4 separate regions of the Homo sapiens genome follow, and regions 1, 3 and 4 are each linked to region 2. Evidence: promoter capture Hi-C in human tissues and cell types (Jung and others, 2019). All regions are on one chromosome and are shown on one strand. Each heading gives the region's core, a stretch centred on a gene start or on the middle of the fragment in contact. The rest is flanking DNA. Distances are from core to core; before and after follow the strand shown.

Evidence for each region. Contacts are between HindIII fragments. The study calls those that stand out against the background at their distance.
Region 1: a fragment that was not itself captured here is called in contact with the fragment with the promoter of CALM1 in region 2 in 1 of the 25 tissues and cell types used here (spleen).
Region 3: a fragment that was not itself captured here is called in contact with the fragment with the promoter of CALM1 in region 2 in 1 of the 25 tissues and cell types used here (dorsolateral prefrontal cortex).
Region 4: the fragment with the promoter of RPS6KA5 here is called in contact with the fragment with the promoter of CALM1 in region 2 in 1 of the 25 tissues and cell types used here (dorsolateral prefrontal cortex).

Annotation. Positions count from the first base shown.
Region 1 is chr14:90,920,189-90,923,225 of GRCh38, forward strand. RPS6KA5 (ribosomal protein S6 kinase A5) reads right to left here. Exons shown (of 17, transcript NM_004755.4): 6 at 2,925-3,008; 7 at 18-121. Among named protein-coding and RNA genes, the nearest start is that of LINC02321, 94 kb to the left of the region's middle. The HindIII fragment of the contact is 8,054 bases long and covers 1-3,037 here.
Region 2 is chr14:90,395,117-90,398,321 of GRCh38, forward strand. It overlaps CALM1 (calmodulin 1), which reads left to right and starts at 1,913. Exons shown (of 6, transcript NM_006888.6): 1 at 1,913-2,117. The coding sequence starts at 2,115. RefSeq lists silencers at 1,605-2,024, 2,305-2,464, 2,475-3,024, 3,105-3,174 and enhancers at 1,709-2,003, 2,125-2,174. The HindIII fragment of the contact is 12,028 bases long and covers 1-3,205 here.
Region 3 is chr14:91,119,958-91,122,965 of GRCh38, forward strand. All of the region lies in intron 1 of DGLUCY (D-glutamate cyclase), which reads left to right. Among named protein-coding and RNA genes, the nearest start is that of SNORA11B, 5.0 kb to the right of the region's middle. RefSeq lists an enhancer at 1-587. The HindIII fragment of the contact is 7,327 bases long and covers 1-3,008 here.
Region 4 is chr14:91,059,249-91,062,191 of GRCh38, forward strand. RPS6KA5 (ribosomal protein S6 kinase A5) reads right to left here and starts at 1,393. Exons shown (of 17, transcript NM_004755.4): 1 at 1,084-1,393. The coding sequence starts at 1,186. It also overlaps a transcript of DGLUCY not described here. RefSeq lists silencers at 846-915, 986-1,115, 1,486-1,545, 1,766-1,895 and an enhancer at 1,123-1,703. The HindIII fragment of the contact is 3,623 bases long and covers 57-2,943 here.

The sequences.
Region 1 (3,037 bases), core at 433-2,932, 520 kb after region 2:
ATTTTGTCAAATCTTACCTAGATATCTCAGCTTGGGAATTTTTTTCTCCATCAACAGTGAAAGGAGATGCTCCAGTTAGTAATTCATACATTAGAACACCCAAACTCCACCAGTCAACTGCCTATAAAACAACAATAATTTCATTTTATAGAATTATCAACTAAAATATTTTATAAGAAAGAAAAAATGAATAAAAGCTATCTATTAGGAAAATGTTTTAAAAAATGATTTTGTACACCTCCTTCTATGTAAGGAGTATTAAATTAACACATGCAAGAAAGACATTTAGAGAACAAATATCCAAGTATCCTCAGCACAGAAAGCATGTTATTTCTTAAACTAGTAACCGTTTACCTTGATAATTTAAAAAATTTAAACTTTATATAAATTTTTAAAATTTTAAGTAGGTGATATTTCTTTGGGCTTATGATAGGGAACTAAAGTATTCAGCTCCAGTGAGCCTTATGAAATGTCTAAAATTCAAAGAACAATAAATGAAAAAAAAAACCACATCCAAGGGTATGTTATTTTTTCCTAACTGCCTAAATCAATTTTTCTTATAGAACCTATCACACATAAACCTCAGAGTCTTCACTGATGGGAAGATCTAAAATAATATAAAATAAAATGTGTTCTAATTTGGAAACCAATTTATACATGCAGTTACCTGAACTGAGAACATAGAAAATTATATATAATTTAAAGAATCTTTTATTTTATTTTATTTGAGATGGGGTCTCACTATGTTGCCCAGGCTGGTCTTGAACTCTTAGGGTCAAGCAATCTGCCCACCTCAGCCTCCCAAAGTGCTGGGATTACAGGCGTGAGCCACCATGCCTGGCCTAAAGAATCTTGATGTATTGAAAATTACTTCTTTTGTAATTAGGCAAATCAGAATTTTAATAACTATTGAATAAATGAGTGTACACCAATGAGAAATATTAACTAGATGTTAAAATTTCAAACTATTTGCTTCCAATTTCCAGGGCCTAAGTTTCAGAGAGGTGACAAAATTTATGAGCCTAGAGCTATTAAGAAAATACAGAGTGCTGACATACAAAACACATCAGGCAGACTAAAATCGTGAGAGCAAAGGTATTTACTGAATATTTTCCTCATGCCAGGCACTATGATGAGCACTTTGCATACATTATATCATTTAATAACTGTCAGGTTGTTCCAGGTGTGGGAAAAAATATTTATTGACTAGGTATATTCTGCACCTTAGGTATGTAGAAATTCTAGGAGTAATATAAGATTTTCTTATGTGAAAATTGGTTCCATTAGGTCTCTGAAGATAATTTTCAAATTAACAGGTATAAATTCCTACCAAATTCCCCAACAGCTTCAAAGAATATCAAGAAGCAAACTAAGCCAGCAATTAAACTCTTCCATTAATACAAGCAGTTTGACTGCCATTTGAGTCAGAACCCTCAGAATGTTTTGCTGTTGGATTTGAAACCACATTATTCAACTGACAGAGATCAATAATCAGATTCTTAGCCCTGGGTTCCAAAACCAGTAACACACAAACTTGAAGAACATGCTTTTAAATACATGATTAGTCGTCAGGAAGGAGACCAAAGATTCTCCACAGCCAGATATCTGAACTGCATATGTGGGACTCTGAAAGGGAATGAAGGAGAAGGAAAGATGGGGAACAAAAAGTAGAATACCTTATTTGGATAAAGCTATTAATAAAACAGAAGTGTTAAAAAATGAACAAATTTTGTACCCTTTAATACAGAAAAAAAACCATGACCTAGATTTTATAACATAATTACTTAGAAAGTTTCTTCTAGAATCTTCATTTTGCACATACAAAGGCAAGAGAGGAGGCCAAAAAAATTGAGCTTTTTAGAGGGCTTAGGAAAACAAACTTAAACTATCTAGAACTCAGGATTTTTTCTTTCACCAAGGGTTGTTAAAATATTTATTTCTGTTGGGAAGATAATCAACAGTCTCCAGTGTCTCTGGAAAGTTAAAGGCAGAAACTGGGAATAAGAAAATATCAGTGATTCCCTTTTCATTGACCTCTTAGTGACAGCTTAAAAAGCCAATTATTAACTAAAGGTGATACACATGACTATATGTTTCCGAATGTTTTTCTAGTAGAAATTAAAAATGCCAATAAATACTGTCCAAAACCATTCATCACGACTCAGACAGGAACAATGTGCAGTTTTACATGCCGTGACCCTTCTGTATTGCATTGTGGTTCACTTGTATCCTAAAAGGCCAGGGTCTCATGCAAAAATAAGTAAGTAATTTTCTTTTGAGTCGTTGTCTCACTCTTGCTGCCCAGGCTGGAGTGCAATGGCACAATTTCTGCTCACTGCAACCTCTGCCTCCCGGGTTCAAACATTCTCCTTCCTCAGCCTTCCGAGTAGCTGAAATTACAGGCGCTCGCCACCACGCCCAGCTAATTTTTTATATTTTTAGTAGAGATGAGGTTTTGCCATGTTGGCCAGGTTGGTCTCGAACTCCTGACCTCAGGTGATCCATCCACCTTGGCCTTCCAAAGTGCTGGGATTACAGGCCCTTAATTTTTTAAAAGAATGGAGTCATAGTTTGTACTCTAAGAAATAGGCTCTCTCAACAGAAATAAAATAAAAATTATTTGACTAGTTTGGAGGTCTCAACTTTAACAAGAGTGTTACTCTATAAAATAAAACACAATTCTCACCAATAAAATCTTTAAAAAGGGAAATCTAGAATGTCCTAACCTTTGTATTATCTTTTTCCTCCAAAATACTAGATATCATAATGTGTTCAGGAATACAAAGCAAAAGAGAAAAAAAGGAAGGTAAGACAATCAACACCAGAAAGACGGCTCTGTTGAAGAGATGACCTAAGTTGTTAACTAGGATTCTTATAGTACATTTTATAGAAATACATAAAGAAGCATCAAAAATAGAACATACCTTGTCATGTCCTGAATCTCCCCCTCTGACAATATCTGGTGCCATGTATTCAATAGTTCCACAAAAGGAATATGCTCTTTCAGTCTTGAACAAACAAACAAAAAAGGGATTTG
Region 2 (3,205 bases), core at 663-3,162:
AGACAAGGTTTCACTATGTTGGCCAGGATGGTCTCGATCTCCTGACCTTGTGATCCGCCTGCTTCGGCCTCCCCAAGTGCTGGGATTACAGGTGTGAGCCACCGCGCCCGGCCAAGATGCAGTTTTAATAAGGAGTTTGGCCATTTAGGCTTGTAACTGACTGGATTATTGCATATTCTTTAAAATTAATTTGTATTAGTCCCTTTTCTTCTATTTCCTTATCTCCAACTCTCGCATTAGTATGCACGCTTTATTCCTACTCAGGTTTTCCCCTATGAGCCCAGGAGTATTATTATTATTTTTTTGCAGGGATTAGGATCAGGTTTGTGAAGTGAATAGTGTCTTTCTAATCTGCAGAGGGAAGGCAGCATCCCCTGGCTTGCTGCTGCAGCCTCTCTTTAAATTAAACAGCAGGTTCACTCTTTCTGCGGCATTCCAGAAGGAACATCAGTAGGAACAGCTCCACAGATGCTGACGTCTTGTCTAAGGTTATCCCAAGAAGTCCTGTGGCATTTGCAATGTGCCTGTACATTTTTCCTTTTTTAAAAAACATATTCCTGCAGACTTTGTTGAAAGCAGAAACAAACACAAGCAAGCAAAGCCCTTTCTAGCACAGCATGTTAATCACACACTTTGCCATATTCTGTGAAACAGTAAGCAAATGATAACCTCCAACTGTTGCCCGGGCCCTGTAAAACAGAAGATCAAATTCTGTGTTCTGCCTTGGCAAGAAAAGAAACTGCAGCATTTTGTCTAGATTTTTACAAGTCCTGGGGTTCACATTACTGGCTGAAATTGTTCTTTCTCTACTTTACAGAAAAATGGAAAACACTAGTAAACTTAAAGATTTAAATATTATTTTAAAAGGAATATAATAAAAAATGGAAAACACTAGTATATTTAAAGATTTAAATAGTCTTTTAAAAGGAATATAATCAAAACTGTAGTTTAAAATACAATCTAGCTCCATAAGAGAGGCAATTGGCTGTGTGTTCCACTTGTAATGCAGAGGATTTGAAGCATCTATTTTTTCCCTTGTTTCTATGGATTTATGAATAAAGACTCTGACCCTTCTCAGGATCAGGAAAATTACGAAAAATTTAAAGCCTGGGTTTAAGGTCTGTAGAAGCTGCACAGGTACACTAATTTTAGTAAGACGGGCGCCAGGAAAAAGAACAAAATAGTAGGGGAGAAATATTCAGGCATCCTAAAAAATATTCAGTGGAAACGTAAAAACATTAAAGACTGATTAAACATCGCAGCATGACACAGATTTAGCAACTGAGCATAAATAATTTGACTCGGATACTGCTCCAAAATCCGAAGAGGACCAATTTCTTCCAGGAGGACAACTACCTCGTCCTCTGCAGACCCCTCTCCTCGGCAGCTGAAGGAGTGTGGCCAATCTGCCTCCACCTCCCCGCGGACCCCCTACTCTCAGGACCTCCTGCAGCACCCCAAACTGGAAGTGGCCGCTGCAGACCCAAGGACGAGGGGCACGCGGGAGCCGGCAGCCCTAGTGGAGCGGTTGGAGATGTTGAGGTGGGAGGGTCACCCAGGTGGGGTGAGGCTGGGGTAGGTAGCGGAGTGAACGGCTTCCGAAGCTCTGGGCCGCCCCCAGGTTGGACTAAGCAGGCGCTCTGTCTTCGCCCCCGCCCAGGGTGGGCGTCTCCTGAGGACTCCCCGCCACACCTGACCCGAGACCGCGCGCCCAGCCTAGAACGCTTCCCCGACCCAGCGTAGGGCCGCCGCGACTGGCGCGCAGGGGGCGGCGGGAGGCCTGGCGAACCCGGGGGCGGGACCAGGCGGGCAAGGCCCGGCTGCCGCAGCGCCGCTCTGCGCGAGGCGGCTCCGCCGCGGCGGAGGGATACGGCGCACCATATATATATCGCGGGGCGCAGACTCGCGCTCCGGCAGTGGTGCTGGGAGTGTCGTGGACGCCGTGCCGTTACTCGTAGTCAGGCGGCGGCGCAGGCGGCGGCGGCGGCATAGCGCACAGCGCGCCTTAGCAGCAGCAGCAGCAGCAGCGGCATCGGAGGTACCCCCGCCGTCGCAGCCCCCGCGCTGGTGCAGCCACCCTCGCTCCCTCTGCTCTTCCTCCCTTCGCTCGCACCATGGTAGGTCGGGAGTGGCAAATGCCGGCGTAGCAGCTGCCCGAGATTTCTTCCCAGATTTCTAGTTGTTTTGTTTGTTTTTTGTTTGTTTTTGGTTCTTGGAGGTTTTTCTTTTCTGAGTGTTACGCAGCAGCTGCGCTTAAAGGAGGTTGCATTTTGGATTTGCATCTCGGCGACCTCTGCCAGGGAGCTTCATTTATTGGTTCCCCTTGGAGCTGGACTTGGTCGTAGGCCGTCCACGGGCAGGGGCTCCGGCCGCAACTGCAGCGGGGGTTTCTGCATCCAATCCCCCTGCCCCCCGCCCAGCCCCGCACCCACTGCATCCACTAGCGCCGCACCCGGGCTGCCTGCAGCGCAGCGTTTCGGCCTGGGAGCCGGGCGGGGCCGGGCACTAGACCCCCCCCCCCGGCCCGCCCCTCCCCACCCCGCTTCTCCGCCGGCGCGAAGGTGGCAGGTCGGGCGGGCAGTGGAGAATGAATGGGCTGGAGCTGGCCGGTGGCGCACATTGTTCCGGCCGGGTGTTGAGGGGCGCAGTCAGCGCCCGCCACCTCCCCACTTTGGCCGGCCCTGCTGGGCGCCCTCCCTCGGTCGCTCTCCCCTCCTTCTTCCCGGGGGGCGCGGCGCGGGCGTGGGCTGGGAAGGAAGGAGCCGGGGAAGGGTGGGGTTGGGGGCAGGAAGGCGAGGGGTTGGGGGCGGAGAGGGCGGAAGCGGCGGCCGGGCCGCCCTGCGCCCGGGCGGGGCCCTGCGGTGTGGCCGTGGCTTGTTCCTGCCGCTTTCGCACCCTGCGGCCCCCCACCCAGTGCAGCAGTGCGGGCGGGCGTGAGCCTCGGTGCACCAGGAGGCACTTCCCGCGGGAGGCGCTGGGCTCGCGCTAATTGGGGCGGGGGGGGGGGGCGGCGGGGGAGGAGGGAACTGGCGCGCGGCTTGGTTTCCATTAGAGACGCAAAGTTTCTGCTCCGGGAGGAGGCGGCGGCGCCGCGGGCTCGTCGCCTGGGGGAGCAGAAGCGGGTGGGAGGTGCGGGTGGCCTTGGCCTCAGCCCTGGTGCGCGGGGGCCGGGGGTGGTGACCCTCCTGGCCGAGGAGGGGCGGCG
Region 3 (3,008 bases), core at 436-2,935, 720 kb after region 2:
CTCAGGGCTTTGGCCTGAGACTGAAGGCTGCATTGTTGGCTTCCCTACTTTTGAGGTTTTGGGACTTGGATTGGCTTCCCTGCTCCTCGGCTTGCAGACAGCCTATTGTGGGACTTAACCTTGTGATGGTGTGAGTCAATACTCCTTAATAAACTCCTCGTCATGTTAGTCCTGTCCCATCTAGAGAACCCTGACTAATACACTTAGTGTCCTCAGCCACGCAAAAGCTGATGACTCGCAGCTCTCCCTCCTCCGGGCAGGTGTCCTTCCTGACTTCTGGTGCTGAATGTCCACCCTGTCATGGACCTCTGCCTGGGGCTGTCTCACAGGCTCCTCCTACTTAGCATTCTAAAACCAAATTCCTCATCAGTCTCTTCTTGTATTTATTTTCATGAATGGCACAGTTAGCTAGTTGCCCATCCCAGGAAAAAGAAATCTGATAATTATTATTATTATTGTTTTTTGAGATGGAGTTTCACTCTTGTCACCCAGGCTGCAGTGCAATCACGCTATCTCAGCTCACTGCAACCTGCAGCCTCTACCTCCTGGGTCCAAGCCATTCTCCTGCCTCAGCCTCCTGAGTAGCAGGGATTACAGGCACCCACCACCGCGCCTGGCTAATTTTTGTATTTTTAGTAGAGACAGCATTTCACCATGTTGGCCAGGCTGGTCTTGAACTCTGTCCTCAGGTGAGCCACCTGCCTCAGCCTCCCAAAGTGCTGGGATTACAGGCATGAGCCACCCCACCTGGCCCTGATAATTATTTGTGATTCCTTTCTTTCGTTGCACCTTTTGCATACATTCAATCAGGTATCAGGTTCTGGCAAGTCTACCTCTTCCAGTTCCTCAAATCAGCCCTTCCTCTCATTCTCTCACTTTGGGGAAAGCCTGGATTGCTTCTCAAATACTTACGACAGAGGGTCTCTGAGGGATGTTCTTCTTCACATTCATCCTCCACCAAGTGCTGCCTGTTCAGGGGATCCTCCTACCCTTAGTGCTCCTGGGGCTCTTAGATGAAGCTCATACTCCTTCAGGTTATGCACATGCTCCCTCCCAAGCATCTCTTTGTCTATCTTCCCAGCCCCTCTCCCTCTTTACCCCAGGTGTGCCAACCACTCACACTGTCACCTACAGAGACTTCTTCAGCCTTTCTCCTAGTGCTGATTTCCAGCTGTCTGTCAAAGCTCATGCAATGTCTCCCAGGCCATACCTGCCTGACACTGTCAACACAGTTTTCCTTGCCTCTTCCTCATTAGCAGCTCCAGTGCTTAAGCACATTTCCCGACACACAGAAAGTGCTCTGTAAATGGCAAAAGAGTGAACTGTATGGCTCTTTCCATGTCCTACTCCACCTCCAATCATGCTACCTGCTCTGTACCTAAGCTTCTGAGAAGACCCTCCTCTCCTGTGGGGATGTCTGTAACTCTTTCTTCAAGAAATAATATTTTTGGCTGGGCGCAGTGGCTCACGCCTGTAATCTCAGCACGTTGGGAGGCCGAGGTGGGTGGATCACCTGAAATCAGGAGTTCGAGACCAGCCTGGCCAACATGGTGAAACCCTATCTCTACTAAAAATACAAAAATTAGCCAGATGTGGTGGCGATCGCGCCACTGCACTCCAGCCTGGGTGACAGAGTGAGACTCCATCTCAAAAATAATAATAATAATAATAATAATAATAATAATAATAATAATAATTTCAAGAACAAACTCAACTAATGTCTTCAGTGAAGGCTTCTCCTACTTCCCCAGCCAGATTTTCATTATTTATCTATCATCAAGTATTTTTAAAATGCCTATAGTGTGCCAGGCACTGTTCAGTATACTGGGGATAGAGCAGGGGGAAAAAAATGACAAAAACCCCTACCCTTAAGAGGTTCACAGTATAGCATGGGGAATTAGAAGTAAGCATCTGTCTCTTCTCTGGTCTTTAAGCACCTCACAGGCACTGGCCATGTCTGCTCATCTGTTTATTCCCATCATCTAACAGAGTGCTCAACACATTTGCTTGATGAATACGTTTTGAGCACTGGGAGATGATCACAGAAGAGCTAAGAAGTGATAGCAGTTGTATTTAGTGGAGAACAGTATTCACACCTTGTTGTCTAGATTGCCTTGAAATCAGGCTCTGTATGATATCTTTTTTTTTTCTCTTAGAAAAAACTGTTAACCTATTTAGAGTAATTTTATTAAGGAGCTTTTTATTTTTTTATTTTTTTTTTTGAGACAGGGTCCCACCCTGTTCCCCAGGCTGGAGTGCAGTGGTTCAACAACCACAGCTCACTTCAGCCTTGACCTCCCGGGCTCCCACCTCAGTCTCCTGAGTAGCTGGGAACACAGGTACGTGCCACCCTGCCCAGCTAATTTTTTATTTTTTGTAGAGATGGGGTTCCACTGTGTTGCACAGGCTGGTCTCAAACTTCTGGGCTCAGTCAATCCTCCCGCCTTGGCCTCCCAAAGTGTTAGGATTACAGGCGTGAGCCATTGTACCTTTAAAAGAAAAAAAGAAAGATTTTTTTTATTTTAAATTAAAAATTATGACATTGCATATCACTGTGAGTGTATTTAATGTTACTGAATTGTACACTTTAAAATGATTAAGATGGTCAATGTTATGTGTATTTTAACTATAATAAAAGAAAAAAGTTTTTTTTTTTTTTTTTTGAGATAGAGTCTCACTCTGTCGCCCAGACTGGAGTGAAGTGGCTCGATCTCGGCTTACTGCAACCTCCACCTCCCGGGTTCAAGTGATTCTCCTGCCTCAGCCTCCTGAGTAGGAGTAGCTGGGACTGTAGGCGCCTGCCACCATGTCTGGCTAATTTTTGTATTTTTAGTAGAGACAAAGTTTCACTATATTGGCCAGGCTGGTCTCAAACTCCTGACCTTGTGATCCACCTGCCTCAGCCTCCCAAAGTGCTGGGATTACAGGCGTGAGCCACGGTGCTTGGCTAGTTCTTTCTTTTCTTAAGGCTGCATTTCATTCAGCAAAGAGGCACTCACTATGTAGCC
Region 4 (2,943 bases), core at 143-2,642, 660 kb after region 2:
AGAATCGCTTGAACCCGGGAGGCGGAGGCTGCGGTGAGCCGAGATCATGCCACTGCACTCCAGCCTGAGCAACAAGAGCGAAACTCTGTCTGAAAAAAAAAAAAAAAAATCCCAATATGCCAAAGCAGCTCTGTCAAAAACCTTCAACGCTCACAAACATATCTAGTAATAACGAACGACTCATTAAAATGTACTATCTGTTCAGAGAAAAAAGTATTAATATATCTACAATACGAGACTGGGCTCCAAGAATATAAATCCAAATTGTACTGATTGGTCTGAATAAGCATTTTCCAAAATGAACAACCTGAACCTACACCACGAATACATTTAATTAGTTATAAAGCTTAGGACAACGCTAGTGATCTCAAACATTAGAACGTAAGCGCTGAAGCCTGCTCGTTAGTTCCTTTTACCTGGAGCTTTAAATTTCTAAAGCCATCATCTCCAGGGACCTCTGAAGGAAATTCAAGGCCAAGTATAGTATTTCATGATAAGTGAGAATAAAGGCACTCAATCCCTGGAGCCGGCGATTCCTGTTCCTGTCTCTAGACTGGACTCGGTAAAAGCCCGAGGCGAAACCTCCCGTTTATCTCCTACAGGACCCCAGCACCTTAGGGGATGGCTCCACAGAGCCCCACCGGGACCCCCCATCGCGGGGACCAGAGGGGCGGAGGAGGGAGACACTCTCCAAAACAAAGCGCCGCTCGCCCCACGCGGAGGCAGGCGCACCTTTCGCCCTGACAGGACGCAGACACACGTGTGTCACCTGTGCGGGAAGGGGGAGCAGCGACATCCTCGGAGGTGCGTGCCACGGGCAGCGGTCGGCGGCTGCGCTGGCCCCGATGCCTGGTGCCCGCCGCTCATTCCCGGGCTGGGGAAAACTTTCGGCCGCCTCCCCCAAGGCGCGCCCCCACCTCCCGGGACCCCCGGGGCACGCGCCCCGACCGCGACGCCCCGCCCCAGGCCCGCCCCTCCGCGCCCACGGCTGCGGCCCCGCGCCCCCAGCCCCGCGCGGGCACCCGCGTGCCCTCAGGCGCGCCCCCGCGCCGGGCCCGGCCGGCAGAGGGCGGGGTCGCTCACCAGTCCGCAGCTCGTGCTTGACAGTGAGGAGCTGCTCTCCTCCGTCGCCGCCGTCCGCGCTGGTCCCCGCGGCGCCGCCGCTGCTGCCACCCTCCTCCTCCATCTTCTCCTTTTTTTCCGATCCCGCGGGTCGCTACGAGGGGAACCCAGGAGACAGCGGACGCCCGTCCCCTCGCAGCCGCTGCCGCGGCCCCAGGAGTCGGGGTGCGGCGGCTCCAGAACTCGGACGCAAAGACGAGTCTCTTTCCCGCTCTGGCCGCACGGCTCGCTCCTCGCCTCCTCCCCCTTCGGCGGGCACCGCTAGTACCGCGCAACCAAACCGCCCCCTGCTCCACCGCCGCCTCCTCAGGCCGCTCCGCCCACAGCCAGCAAGGTAAGGGAGCCATTCGAGCCGCCTTCGCTGATTGGACACAGGGCGCGCGCGTCTGCCAACGCCGGTTCCCATTGGGCAGTACGCTGTGACGTTTCACGAGCCTCCCCGCCTCGCTCCTCGAATTGTTGTTGCTTGGCGGGGAGGCAGGAGAGGGAGGAGCGCCGCCACTCCGATTGGTGAGACCCAAAGCTCTGCCCCGCCCATTTCCTCTGGTGCGCACTCGCAGTCAAGACCTTCCCTTCCCTGACCTCCCCAGAACGGTCACACCCCTTATTCCCCAGCTTCGATCTGTTAGTAAACAGTGTCTAGTAGTCAGGAGGCGCTCGGGGTCTCTGATTGGCTACTGCCGAAAGAGGCGGGGAGGGATGATTGGAACGTTTGGTCCGCCAATCACCGTGGACAGAGGAGGGGCCTGGAGGGTAGCGCTTATCACCCACGTGTTTGCAGACAAACCTAAGGGTCCCGGCAGCGATCCATGCGTGTGTGACAACCAGCGAGACGGCGTGCCCTAAAAAGGTCTTACTCGCTCTAGTGAACCCTAAACAAGTTAAGCAGAGTGTTTGTTCTTAAATAACAGATAGTTCTTAAACGTTACAAAAATTCACAGTCCCAGCTCCCGATGAGGAATTTTACGAAGGAGAGACATTTCTGTTTCGTACAAGACTCTTACTAGGCGCCGAAAGGATGCAGAGATTAACAAAATAGAATACAATTCCTCCCCTAAGCAGCTTTCAATAGAACGTGAGAAACAATCTGTGTGTGTACACAAAAGAACTATAAAGCAGAATTTGAAATAAAGCAGTCGTACAAAGCGTTAGAGAATCTCGCACGGATGGCAATAATTATTCCCAGACGAGGAACTGGGGAAAGCTTTTAGGGCAAGGAGGCATTTGAGATAACCAACGTAAAGGATGGATAAGAGAGAAATACCAGCAATAGACATTCCACACAGAGAGAGTAACTGTGAGCATTGGCCTACAGCAGAGAAGGCAAGGGTGGGTTAAGTGATTGATAAGGTTAGATGAAAGTATGATGTAAGAGATACAGCTGACAAGGTGAGGTGTGGTAAGATAATGGGGAACTAGGGATGCTGTGCTGAAGAGTGCAGATTTTTTTTAGTACACAGTGATGAACTGAAAAGAGGAGAGAGATAGCAGGGCAGGAATCCTGCTGCAAGGATAGAACTAAAGGGAACCTGATTTCTAGTAGCAGACACGAGAATGGGAAAAAGCAGAAACTTAAAGATGTACAGTTGGACGTAATTCAGATAGATGTGATCTTTTAAACTAAGCATGGATTGGATCAGGAGTCAGCACACTTTTTTCTATTAAGGGCCAGATAGTAAATATTTTAGGATTTGCAAGCTGTATGACCTTTTTCACAACTACTCAGCTCTGCCATTGTAGCGCAAAAGCAGTCATAGACAATAAATAAAAGAAGTAGCTGTGTTCCAATAGAATATTTTTTATGGACATTGAAATTTGAAT